Regions from separate parts of the Homo sapiens genome. Here region 2 is linked to region 1. Evidence: promoter capture Hi-C in 16 types of primary human blood cells and fetal thymus (Javierre and others, 2016). All regions are on one chromosome and are shown on one strand. Each heading gives the region's core, a stretch centred on a gene start or on the middle of the fragment in contact. The rest is flanking DNA. Distances are from core to core; before and after follow the strand shown. Region 1 holds the start of ARRDC1 (arrestin domain containing 1). Region 2 overlaps QSOX2 (quiescin sulfhydryl oxidase 2).

Region 1 (6,066 bases), core at 2,560-5,059:
GCTAATTTTTGTATTTTTAGTAGAGATGAGGTTTCACCATGTTGGCCAGGCTGGTCTTGATCTCCTGATCTCAAGCGATCTGCCCGCCTCGGCCTCCCAAAGTGCTGGGATTACAGGCATGGACCACTGCGCCCAGCCTGTTTCATTGCAATTCTTCCAGTTAACGCAAGCTGTGGGCCAGCCTAGGTTCCAGGGGAAGCCCCCCGGTGGGAAGAGCAGCAGGGATGCAAAGGTGGGCGGGATCTTTGAGGAGGGACCACCACGCCCTAGGAAGGAGACTGCTGAGGTAGAGGAGGGTTTTGGAGGAGGAACCATGAGACTGACACGTGTTTACCACACTTTTCTTTTCCCTCCCTCCCTTCCTTTTTTTTTTTTTTTTTGAAATGTAGTTTCACTCTTGTCGCCCAGGCTGGAGTGCAATGGCCCAATCTTGGCTCACTGCAACCTCCACCTCCTGGGTTCAAGCGATTCTCCTATCTCAGCCTCCCGAGTAGCTGGGATTACGGGCGTGTGCCACCACCATGCCCGGCTGATTTTTTTTGTATTATTAGTAGAGATGGGATTTCACCATGTTGACCAGGCTGGTCTTGAACTCCTGACCTCAGGTGATCTGCCCACCTCGGCCTCCCAATGTACTGGGATTACAGGCAGAGCCATTGCGCCCGGCCCACACTTTTCCTTTTCTGTATGTTATTATGCTTTGACATCTTGGGGGCTTTACTAGTCAGGGAGATGCTGCCCCTTCCAGGGCTGGCTAATCCCCAGAGCTAGCAAACAACTTTATAAACACCAATCCAGAGCCCATATCCCCAGTCTCTTCCTGATCTGACTCTCACACCCCAAGCCAGCATTTCTCCTGCCCTGCATCCCCCAGGGACAGATACCAGACGGCTAGAGCCCCCTGCTGTGACCTAGAGTCTGCTGACATGATTCAAGCTATCTAATCCTAAACTTGCTCACACTTACCTACCCTGCCTTGTCCATTTTCACCCTGAGGAAAACACAAAAAAGGCTCTGGGTCATGCTCTCTCCTGGCTCCTCCTGACCCTGGTACTTCCCCTTCTGGCCCTGCGTGGCATGGCAGGGCCCCTCCTCCTGAGAACCACGAGTACTAAATCCTTCCTTTGTGGCACTTGTCTTCTAGTCTGTCACTTTACTATACCTGATTCAAACAAAACCCAGGTACTTTTAGGATATAGGGCAGGAGGCTGGAAGGATTGCCTGTGTGGATTCAGAAGCACTGAGTTTCCACACTTGGAGATGGAGGGAATGACAGTGAGTTAGGAGCTAAAATCACCAAGAAATGAAGATGCCGACCAGAGCGAAGGTGGTGCTGGTGATTCTGAGACCAGGAAGCTTACACATGGTAGCTCCCAGGGTGGAGAATGGCCTGGTAGTGTTAGGAAGGAGCCAGGAGGGCCCCAACCCCACCTACAGACCCAGAGGTAGAGGGATCCTGCGAAAAGATATCTCTACACCCGAAAGCTCCAGGGGAAGCCAGGTTTTCATGAGAGTGCAGCTAGAAGTATGCTTGGAGAAGAAGAGTCTAATGACAGGGCGGTTGGTGCTGGTGGTGGTTTCTGGAACACAGGATGGGTGGGAGATAGGGTCAGAATCAAGGATGTGCAGAGTCCTGTGGGGCTTAGATTGTGGCTGACCTGGGATAAAGGCCACCTGTGTTCTGTGTCCATTGTCTTCCATCTCAGTAGCTTGCAATACAGTCTGTCTGTCCCTTGCTTGAAACACTTTCTTTTTTTTCTTTTTCTGTTTTTTTTTTTTGAAATGGAGTCTCACTCTGTTGCCCAGGCTGGAGTGCAGTGGCGTGATCTTGGCTCACTGCAAGCTCCGCCTCCTGGATTCACGCCATTCTCCTGCCTCAGCCTCCCAAGTAGCTGGGACCACGGCGCCTGTCACCACGCCCGGCTAATTTTTTTTTTTCTTTTTGTATTTTTAGTAGAGACGGGGTTTCACCATGTTAGCCAGGATGGACTCGATCTCCTGACCTCGTGATCCGTCCACCTCGGCCTCCCAAAGTGCTGGGATTAGAGGTGCGAGCCACCGCGCCCGGTGAAACACCTTCTTTCTGACTTCTGGCATGGCCGACTGCCATTCGGGAGGGCTGTCCACAATCCTTGCCATCCCATGGCACCCTTCTCTCTTGTTCGGGAATTCTGCCTGTGCATAGCCTTGGCAGGAAAGTGTCTGGAGCATGGCCAGTTAGACCCACCTCCGGAAACATCGGAATCCTAAGGGAGTGAGCTGGGCCTGGGGCTTCAGGGCCTCTCCCAGCCTGGCCCGGGGGCCCCTCCAGCCTGTGAGCCCCTTTCTCTTTGCTGGGGTGCCAGACTCCTCCTCCCTGACCTGTTACCTTCTACCAACTAGGGATGGCAACATTTTAGTGCTTGACTCCCAGGCTCATGCACGGAAGTACTTGGTCCATTGGGGATCAGTGGCACCTCAGACTCTGCATGTGATGACCCTCCCACCCCCAAACCATGTGTATCTAGGTCCGTCCTCCCCATCAGAGAAGGCCACCCTCTTCACCGGCTGTCCTAGAAAAACTCGCAGCACTGGGGCCCGCACACCCACTCCGTGGTGAGCTGGTCCTTGTCGAGCGACGCCTTCCCTCTCCAGGACTACCCAACCGGTCTCTCCCGCCTTAGGTCCCCTGGGTATTTGAGTCCCACCCCCCGCGGCTCACTCTCTACAAAGGGACCCTTTAAAAAAGATAAATGGGAGTGTGTTCCTCCTGGTTTCAAGTGATCCAAGTCCTCGCCCCACCTGGCCCCCGACCCTTCTGCTGCGGACCCCTGCCCAAGGGCCTCCGCCCAAGTGTGGCTCCCTTGGGCCCACACCCCATCAGGCCAGCAAGGAGGGGGATAGCGGGGGGCGGGGCAGGTGCTGGGACTCCGGGCAGGTGCGGGGAAGGCAGGGGGCGGGGGGGGAAGGGGTTGGGCGATGCAGGTGTTGGGGGCCGGGACAGTTGCGGGGGTAGGCAGGTACCGGGAAGGCGGGAGGGCGGGCAGGTTCCGGAGGGGCGCGACAGGTGCTGGGACGCGAGGTAGGTGCGGAGAAGGTTGGGGGTGCGGGGCAGGAGCCGGGGGTGGGGGTTGAGGCGGGGCAGGTCCTACGCGGCGGAGCATCCCCGCCCAGGACGCCCGCGCGGCCCCGTGACGTTTTTCCGCGACTCGGGGTGAGGGAGACCCCTGGGCGGGACGGGCGGAGGGTGGGGGCGGAGGAGTGGGTTCTGCCCGCAGCAGAGTGCAGCGGGGAGACCTTCCCAGTCTCAGAGCTCGCCTCGGCCCCGCCCCCAGCCCTGCCCCCCGACGGAGACGCGGCGGTGACTCCCTCCGTGGGGGACGCACGGGACGCTTGCGCCTCAAGTCCCTTAAGCGGCGCCCGACGCAGCGCAGCACCTACCCAGCCGGGACAGGGCCAGGGCCGGGGATGGATGAGCGCGGCCGGGGGGCGGGGCAGGGGTGGGGCGGCCGAGGCAGGGGCGGAGCTGGGAAGGCGAGGCAGGGGCGAAGGGCGGGGGCGGGGCGAGGAGGCTGTCAGAGGGGCGGGGAATAACGAGGGGGCGGGGCCACACGGACGGATGGGGCGGGGAATAGGGGCTGGGCCGGGCCTCCGAGCGGCAGTCCGCGGGCTACGGGGCGGCCGGGGGGCTGGGCGGGGCCGTGGGGCGGGGCAGGGCCTGGGAGGGGCCGGATGGGGGTGGAGGCCGGGATTGGGACGGATGGGGGCGGGGCATAGGAGGGGGCGGGGCCGGGCCTCGGAGCCGGGACTCGCGGGCGGCGGGCGGGGGCGTCGCTGCGCGGCTGGCCGGTGAGGCCGCGGCATGGGGCGAGTGCAGCTCTTCGAGATCAGCCTGAGCCACGGCCGCGTCGTCTACAGCCCCGGGGAGCCGTTGGCTGGGACCGTGCGCGTGCGCCTGGGGGCACCGCTGCCGTTCCGAGGTGGGCGCGGGTCCTCGGGGAGGGCCTTTGGCCGCACCTGCGCGGGGCCAGGGCTCCCGGAAGCGGCTGCCGTCGCCTGGCCCCGGGTTGGGCCCGCGGAGTCGCTGTCTTCGCCGCCCGGGACTGCTGGGAAGCGGGCTCGGCGGCGCCGGGGAGGTCCGGGCGGCGCCGCCCTTCCGCGTCTGCCCTTCCTGCCCTCTCGCCGAGGGGCGGCGGGGTCCCGGCGGGGCCTGAAGCGGGTCCACTGTGGAGGACGCCCTGAGCGCGGGCGCACGCAGGCCTGCGACCCTCCCCGTCCGCGCTCGCACCTGCTGGGCTCCTTCCCGCACCCTGGCTCCCGGCGCAGGCGCTCCCGCTGCAGAGCCGCTCCTGGCGCGGGCGTGCGGTCCCGGCGGGGTGCAGACACCTGCTGCGGCTCCCTGCGCCCCCTGCCACCCGCCAGCAGGCCTCGCCGGCCCCCCGCCGAGGTGGACGCCTGGGCCTCGGGGACTGGGTATCGGGTTGCTGCAGTGGCCGCTGGCAGGGCGCCCTGGAGGTGAGGGCCGGCCCGCGAGGTGAGGCTGCCTCTGCCCGGCCCTTGGCTGTGAGTGCCGCGTCCCTGCCGGGGACTTCTCTACCTTGGCCTCCTGTGGGAACCACCTGGGCTGCTTGGCCTGTGCCACAGCCCCTGGACTTGCCGCTGGACCTTGACCGCTGGGCCCGCGCGTGGGTAACAGCACCGATTTTGTGCCTGCTGAGAACCCACAGTCTCTGTTCTGTCCTCTCAGCCTCCTGGGACAGGTGATGGTGCTGTGGCCCTGACCCTGCACCGCCTGAGGCTGTGGGGCCTCGGAAGAAGCCGGGTGGTAGGTGCTTCTGTCAGGCTCCTGGCCCCACTGGGCCTCCTGGGATGACCCCACAGCCTCCCTTCCTCTGTCCCAACCTTGAGTTTGGGGTCTGGGTGGGGGCAGGTGTGGCCGTGGCAGGGCAGAGATAGCACACACATCTCTTGGGTACAGGTGTGGTGTGTGGTGAGGCCGGCTGGATCCTGGTTGAGGGCTGTGCAGGACCCTGTCGTCCTTCCCCTGGCGTGGCCTGGGGTGAGCAGGCCATTGCTTACCACAGGGAAGGGACGGCCCCGCGGTGCGTGACTGGCCTGGGTGTGCAGGCTCCCCTGGCCTCCGGGTGGACGTGGTGGGTGGGTTGAATGCTCACGCCTGTAATCCCAGCACTTTGGGCAGCTGGCCCAAGAGCCGAGGGAGCACTGGCTGATGGTCCTACCTCACAGAGGCTGGTCTGAATGAGGGAGAAAAAGGAGGGTCGTGAGCTAAGGAGTAGGAGATGGGCCCTGATGGGCCAGAGAGCACATGATTCAGGCTGCTGCAAGTGAGGTGGGAGGGTGTACCGGGGCCCCCGGGGGTTTCCCCCAGCCCTGCCTGGGATGGGAACAGAAGGACCATGGTTTCTTTTCCTCATTCAGAGGATGCTTGTCAATCCTGCTAGGAGCCAGTAGGGAGGCCCTCAGCCCCCAGGAGGACAGCAGCCCTGCCTGGGCCCCAGAGCTTGCTCACTTACTCTGCCGATGAGTGTCGGTGACAGTCAGCACCCAGCCGTGAGGACACCGGCTGTCTAAAGGGCTGACGCGGAGGGAGGCCTGGGAGGGAGCAGTTTTCTGGAGCTCAGGCTGGCCCAGTCCAGGGCTGGGGTTCAGGCAGGACCACTTCTTGTTCTGCTGTTACTGGGATGGGCGACCAGGGCCGACAGTGGTTCTCGGAGCACTCATGGTGGGCCCGATGCAATTCTCTCCACGTGCCACGGGCCAGCCTCAGTTAACCCTCAGCGCCCTGGCAAGTGGCACGGTTGTTACTCTCATGATACAGATTTGGAAACAGGACTGGGGGAGTGGCTTACAGGTCACAGCTTCTGTGGCAGGCGTGAGTCCTTTGGGATGAGGATGAGGAGTGGGTGGGTCTTCATGGTCCAAGTGCAGGTGGTGCAAGGGAGGGGCTGCTGAACAGGTGGGAGCCCCAGCTGGAGAAGAAAGTTCCAGTGGTCACTTGAGAACGCAGCCCAGTCATGATCTTCCTTAGAGTCAGAGAGGCCTGCAGCCTCCAGCAGCTTGTCCTTG
Region 2 (6,066 bases), core at 2,676-5,175, 1.4 Mb before region 1:
AATAGTGCTATCTGCCCCCAGGGACAGTGCACAAAGAAACTGTCCTATGGGGCAAGAAAACCACAACCTTTGGGCTTTCCTTGTCTACCAGACAGATGAGGTCGGCGAGCTCACGAGTAACCACAGAGCCTGGGCCCTTAATCAGCAGTGAACAGCAGGATAAACACACAGATGTCCGTGCCCCAGGTCACAGCCCTTGGGCGAGCCTGTGCAACACCCCAACATGATGCTGAGAGGACACAAGACTCAGCTTTTTGTCCTATTTCCAGGTTTTACCTAATATTTCCTTAGCAACAGGATGCAGAAAACTAGTCAGACGGGGAAACTGATCAGCCAGGGGCCAGGAACAAGAGCCGTGCCCTGGGCAGGAGCGAAACACGCTGCTCCGCATCTCAGGTGCGTGCCCACCTCCCTGCACCCTCTCATGCTCCAAGAAGACAAGACATGGCCTTCGGTAACTTTTGCCCAAACACTGTCTACATGACCTGAAACCACAATTCTACCAGGAAGGCACAGACTTCCCCTTTGTTCCCCGAGGATCCCTCACACTTCAGGGAACCCTGAGCTGGCCTTCCAAAGACAACGCTCCCCGGGCCTCATTCCCGCCTCGCAATCCAGGCCCTGAGCAAGCCCGGCGGGCAGCCTCCTCCCACCTGGCTGTGCCAACCCTCCCTCTGCCCCTCAGGCCCCAGCTGCCACGCGCGGCCTGGCCTCTCTCACACATCCCACTGTGCTCCGCTGGTTTCTGGTCTTCAGTTCTCCAGAGAGCAGCCAGAGAGTTTTACCTAGAAACCAGGTTTCCCTGCTTAAAATTGTTCTTTGGCATTCTGTTGCTCAGGAAGAAGACAAGCACCGTTTACTGAGCCTGCATCTGCCTGCTGCCGGGCCCTCAGGGACCTCGTGGTTGCCCCCTTGAGCGACCAAGACCCTATCAAAGTCCTTTTAGCCGGGCGTGGTGGTACCTGCCCATCGTCCCAGCTACTTAGGACGCTGAGGCAGGAGGGTCCCTTGAGCCCAGGAGTTCAAAGCCAACCCGGACCACACGAAGAGACCGATCTCTAAAACAAAAGGTCCCCTGGACACTGCAGTCTTGGCTGTCTCGGGTCCTCTGTGCTGGCCATGCCCCTGGCAGGGCCTTCACCTCGTGGCTCCTCTCCCAAGTCGCTGCCCTCTGACGCCTTGCTCTACCACCCAGGGCCACTCCAGTTTCTTTCTAATTGGTCTGTTCATTTTTCTAGGAGTTACAACCTATAGGTAACTCATTTATTTTAATTTGAGACAGGTCTCACTCCGTCACCCAGGCTGGAGTACAGGAGAGTGATCACGGCTCACTGCAGCCTCAACCTCCTGGGCTCGAGTGATCTTCCCATCTCAGCCTCCTAAGTGGCTGGGGCCACAGGAGTGGGGATCTTGCTATGTTGCCCAGGCTGGTCTTGAACTCCTGGGCTCAAGTGATCCTCCCACCTTCCAAAGTACCGGGATTACAGGCGGGAGCCACTGCCCCGGCCACTTCCTTGTTTTATTTGTCTTCCTGTTGACTGTCTGCTACTCCCTCTAAAGCACAGGCTTCCTCAGGTGGGGACCTCCCTGCTTTGTTCCCTGCTGTTCCTCCAACAGATGAATTTCCAGCGCAAATTCATCCCGGAGCGTGAATTCACGCAGAGCCCCTGCACACACTGCAGGGCGAGGGAAGTCCAGCTCCATCCACCAGTCCGCAGGGGCAGCACCTCGACCTGCCTCAGTAGAGCTACGCTCCCAACACCACCACCCCACTCAGGGTCAGTCCTGGTGAAGGGGCATGCGGGCACCCCACGTCGCCTTTGTCTGTCCTTGAAAGAATGCCAGGCCGTGTGCTCAGGGAAGGCCGAGCAGATGAGGGAGAATTTCAGTTACACAGGCCTCCCTCAGCAGCTGAACAGGCGCCAGGAGTACCGGCAAGGACTCGGCAGATGGACGGTATTCATGGCAACACAAAAGATATGGTAGTCCATATTATCAAATCAAATACAAAACACGTAAAAGGCTTAGCTTCAGGGCACTGGCCTCATTCAACGGGTACCCTCCCCTTCTCCTGCTCTGCCCACCTGTCTAGCTCTGAACCTCTAAAGCAGAATGCAAATGGCCTGCTTTCATTGGGCCTCTGGGGTTAGAGCCAGCTGAGAGGCACAGGGTGTGGCAGGGGCGGGGGTGCCCAACCCAGCACAGCCAGGGGGTTCCAAAGGGAGGCAGAAATGAGACCGCAGGCCTATTCTCACTTCTGCTCAAGAGCCTGGCTATTTTAGGACTCCAGTCTTAAAAATACTTGGGAAATAATTAAGCTTCTATATATAGTAGATTAACATTTATTTCAAATGTGCTTGTCAAATAACTCTAATACTGAATCTAACAAGGTTAACTCTTTACTGCTTGTCACGTTCTAATGAAAAAGTCTACAGAAGTCTAATGTATAGTCCAGTATCAAATCGTTCTAGAAAATGATTACAGTAAAGATAAAACAATCTCCCAAGTTGAAAGGCAACTAGGGAGCTGTGTTTAAGGGACAGAGGTCCACTGCAGCCTCTCCTTCCTGAGTCAGGGCCATGCTGGGGTCTCGAACTCCGCATACCAGTCCCTGGAGAAGACCCTCTCTGGGTGGAGCCCCCTCTTGGCTGAGCAAAGGTCTTCTTAGCTAAGCTCCAAGTTCAAGGCACAAGTTTGGAATAACAGGCCTGGGTAGAAATGAAACCCACCTAGCGACCAGGAGAGCCTAACACAAATCACCTAGAAGTTGCCAAGGGCTGGTCTGAGAAAACCCGGGCACACGCTACGGTCGCCTCATCTGGGGACTGAGGGCAGGGCTGGGTCCCATGGACTCTTGATCCCCAGCATTTAACTCAATTCTGGTAAACCAAAACTACACGTTCTTCAGCCTCGAAGGGTGCTCCGAGGTGACAGCAATTCCAATGCTGTTTATCTGTTGGTAGGGAATGACAGTCCCTCAGCCCGTCCTCTGTCAGGGAAGCCCAAGCAGTGCTTATGACCTGGGTCACCCCATGGCACGACGACCGGCATGACACAGCGGAGACGGCTCCCTGGACGTGGCTGTAAGGCCCTCTTAGCAAACCATCCCGTCTTACTTCAACAACAAGTAAGTGGCCTGGGTCTCTCGGTGTAGTCTCAGACGCACCAACCACAGCCACTGGGGAGGCCAGCGGGGAGCCCGGCTGCTCCGATGCACCATCCTTTCTGTAAAATACTCATGTGGTCGCCACAGCGGGGCTACATTAAGCCATTTCTGGGCCCGTAAGGAGACAGGAGGCCTCCACTGCCCAACTCTTCCTCCTTCCACCCTCTCCATCCTCCCGAGTCCAGTGAGCACCTGGCAGCTCTCACGGGCCGTCAGCCCCGCCAAATGCCCGCTGACACCTGCATGTCCCCCTCCCTCTGGCCCTTATTGTTTCTTTTTCCAGTAAACGGACAATGAGCCTGTGGGGAACACCAAGTTCTAATTCATCTCCAAGAAGCCTGCAGCCTAGTCGAGTAGACAAGAAACCAGACCAAGTGGGACAGAGGAGCTGGCAGCAATCACAGAATGCCCTACCCTTCCTTCAAGAGATGTCGGATGTGTCCAGCTCCCAACCCCCACCTGTCCTCTACAAAGACACAGGAATGAACTGCCATGGCTCCAGGTCACCCACACCTGGACACCCATCCCGGCCTGTCACTCAGCTGCGTGACCGTGACTATCCCACGCAACCTCACGTGCTATCACCTGCAACATGAGCGCCCCCGCACTCCTGAGGACAGGTGTGGGAGGACTCGGCCTGTTCCACGCAACCTCATGTGCTATCATCTACAACATAAGCGTTCCCGCCCTCCTGAGGGCAGGTCTAGGAGGACTCAGCCTGTTGTGGGTGGTGGCCTGCCCTGTTTTCTCAGGCTGACCAAGTGAAGGAGATGGGAGGGAACAGGCACCAGGGCCACAGAGGGCGCACGGGGACACAGGCCCTGCCTTTAGGGTGCACCCTCTTGTCCACTCAAGACTGCAGAGGCATTTCGGAGATCTCACCGGTCAGACGGGCCAAAGTGTAGCCCCAGGCCCTGGTGCCTCATCTTCCATCACAAACCCAGCAACCATCACTGCCAGGCAGATCTTCAGGAACCCAACAAGGTTTTGTTCTGCAAAGTACTTAGAAGTGACAGGCTTAAGCCAAATCTCCACAAACACTAGAATGACACTTGGTCACACCAAACAGTACAACTTTTGTTTCTTAAGCCACCTTCTTATAAGAAAAAACATTTATTTTCCCAGCCTTGAAAAAGCCAGTCAAGAGCTAAAGTTCAATCCAAATTTCTGAGGAAAACAAAGGTGCCCTGGCCTGTCCTGCTCCTTCCAGCTGGAGGCTCCTGGGAAGCAGAGCCCACACCTAACCATCCTCTCCAGCAGCCACAGGCATGAAGAACGCAGGGCGTGGCGGGCGCTGGCCAGGGGGACCAGTGGGAGAAGGCGGCTGGACACTCTAGGTAGAAGTGGGGGCCCAAGCCATGGCCTGTGTGCCCCCAGGGGATCAGCAGGATGACCTAAGTCACAGGTGATTGATCAGGGCCACAGGTGACTGATCTGAGTCAGGTCAACAGGGACATAAGAAAACATGAGAATGTTGACAACGGGAATGCCTGCATGCAGCCAGACCCCTGCACTGCCACGGGCAATGGGCGCCCTATCCCTGTGGGACAGCTCCACGCAGGGATGACAGACAGGGAGCCAGGCGCCAAGCAGACAGTTCTGAGCTGGCAGGTCTGGGCTGGGGCTGTGGAGAAGCAGGCATTTCTAACAAGGCCCTAAGTGGCCCTACTTTGAGAGTCCCAGCCTTAGAACAGCTCCGGGGACTCCTCAGTGCCAAGGGCCTTTCATCCCTTTCTACCCGGACTCTACCTCCCACAAGCCTCATGGGCACAGCTTGGCTCTCAGGACTGTAAACCAAAAATAAAATCCTGAGTCCCCTAACTGACTGAATTGAACCCCCTCTTGGCCAAGGAGACCCCAGGGCAACCTGAGGAAAGAAATTCCAGGCCCTGACGGCAAGGGAGGTCAGACACGCCTGGTTACATCACCTCCCTTTGGAGTTTAGGCAGAGCTGACCAGCGTGATGAAACAGAGATCACAGACAGACAGCACAGCCTCAGCAGCAACGACACCAAACTCCAGCCTGACTCGGGTACAGCACCACATGACAAATAGCACACCCTGCAGGAAATCAAAATATTTCACCCCCAAATACATTTATTTCCCTGACATATTTGAAATGGTCCTGCAAAGCTGTCTTTTGTGAGGGAAATTTGCATCTGTAGAGAATCTCCCTCCCTTTCTAGGTCTTTCCTGGATCTAGGAGACATTTAACGAGTCTGACAGCATTCAGGTCTGAAAAGAGACATTTACCCTCTATTCTCCCCAAGGCTGCTGCCTGTGAGGCTTCATCTACTTAACCTTGGCCTCCACAGCCCCTTTAGCTTAACTCAAGCATTTCTCTTTGCTGACTTCAAGTCTTTAGACAAAGCTTAACTCTTTCAATCAATTGCCAGTCAGAATCCACCTATGATCTGTAAACCTACCCCTTCCTATACCTTACATGTACTGATTTATGTCTCTCTGCCTATAACTTCTGTCTCCCTAAAATGTATAAAATCAAATTAACGTGACTGCCTAGAGCACACTTTCTTAGGACCTCTTGACACTGTTCCCCTGGCCATGGCCACTACACTTATTGGCTCAGAACAAACCTCTTTCAGTATTTTATAGTTTGGCTTTTTAGCCAACAGGACCCTCTGCCTGGGCTCCCTGAAGCCCTCTCCCTGCTGCCTGGTCAGGTCACCGCTGTCTTTCACTTTCAGCCATATCCTCCTCCAGTCTCAGTCTCAGGCACAAGCCTGTTCTTCCTGTCGTGACTGGGAAGACAGTCAGCCTCACTAAAGGAGGCTTACTGAGTTGAGTTCATCACACCACTGGGTATGGACGTTACTGTGTGGCTCTCAGGAGGGGCCTTCCTTCTGAGCTCCAGGGACAGTTCTCAAGGCTGCCTATGTGCT

Evidence for each region. The method cuts DNA at HindIII sites, captures the fragments that hold promoters and counts their contacts. A CHiCAGO score of 5 or more calls a contact.
Region 2: a fragment that was not itself captured here is called in contact with the fragment with the promoter of ARRDC1 in region 1 in 1 of 17 cell types (fetal thymus); the score reaches 5.1 in fetal thymus.

The regions. Positions count from the first base shown.
Region 1 is chr9:137,601,877-137,607,942 of GRCh38, forward strand. It overlaps ARRDC1 (arrestin domain containing 1), which reads left to right and starts at 3,810. Exons shown (of 8, transcript NM_152285.4): 1 at 3,810-3,959. The coding sequence starts at 3,842. It overlaps LOC124902318 (a long non-coding RNA gene), which reads right to left and starts at 3,462. Exons shown (of 3, transcript XR_007061885.1): 1 at 3,421-3,462. RefSeq lists silencers at 3,072-4,201, 4,212-4,481. The HindIII fragment of the contact is 16,425 bases long and covers 1,355-6,066 here.
Region 2 is chr9:136,237,927-136,243,992 of GRCh38, forward strand. All of the region lies in intron 1 of QSOX2 (quiescin sulfhydryl oxidase 2), which reads right to left. Among named protein-coding and RNA genes, the nearest start is that of QSOX2, 4.9 kb to the right of the region's middle. RefSeq lists an enhancer at 1,287-1,815 and a silencer at 2,031-2,160. The HindIII fragment of the contact is 3,219 bases long and covers 2,317-5,535 here.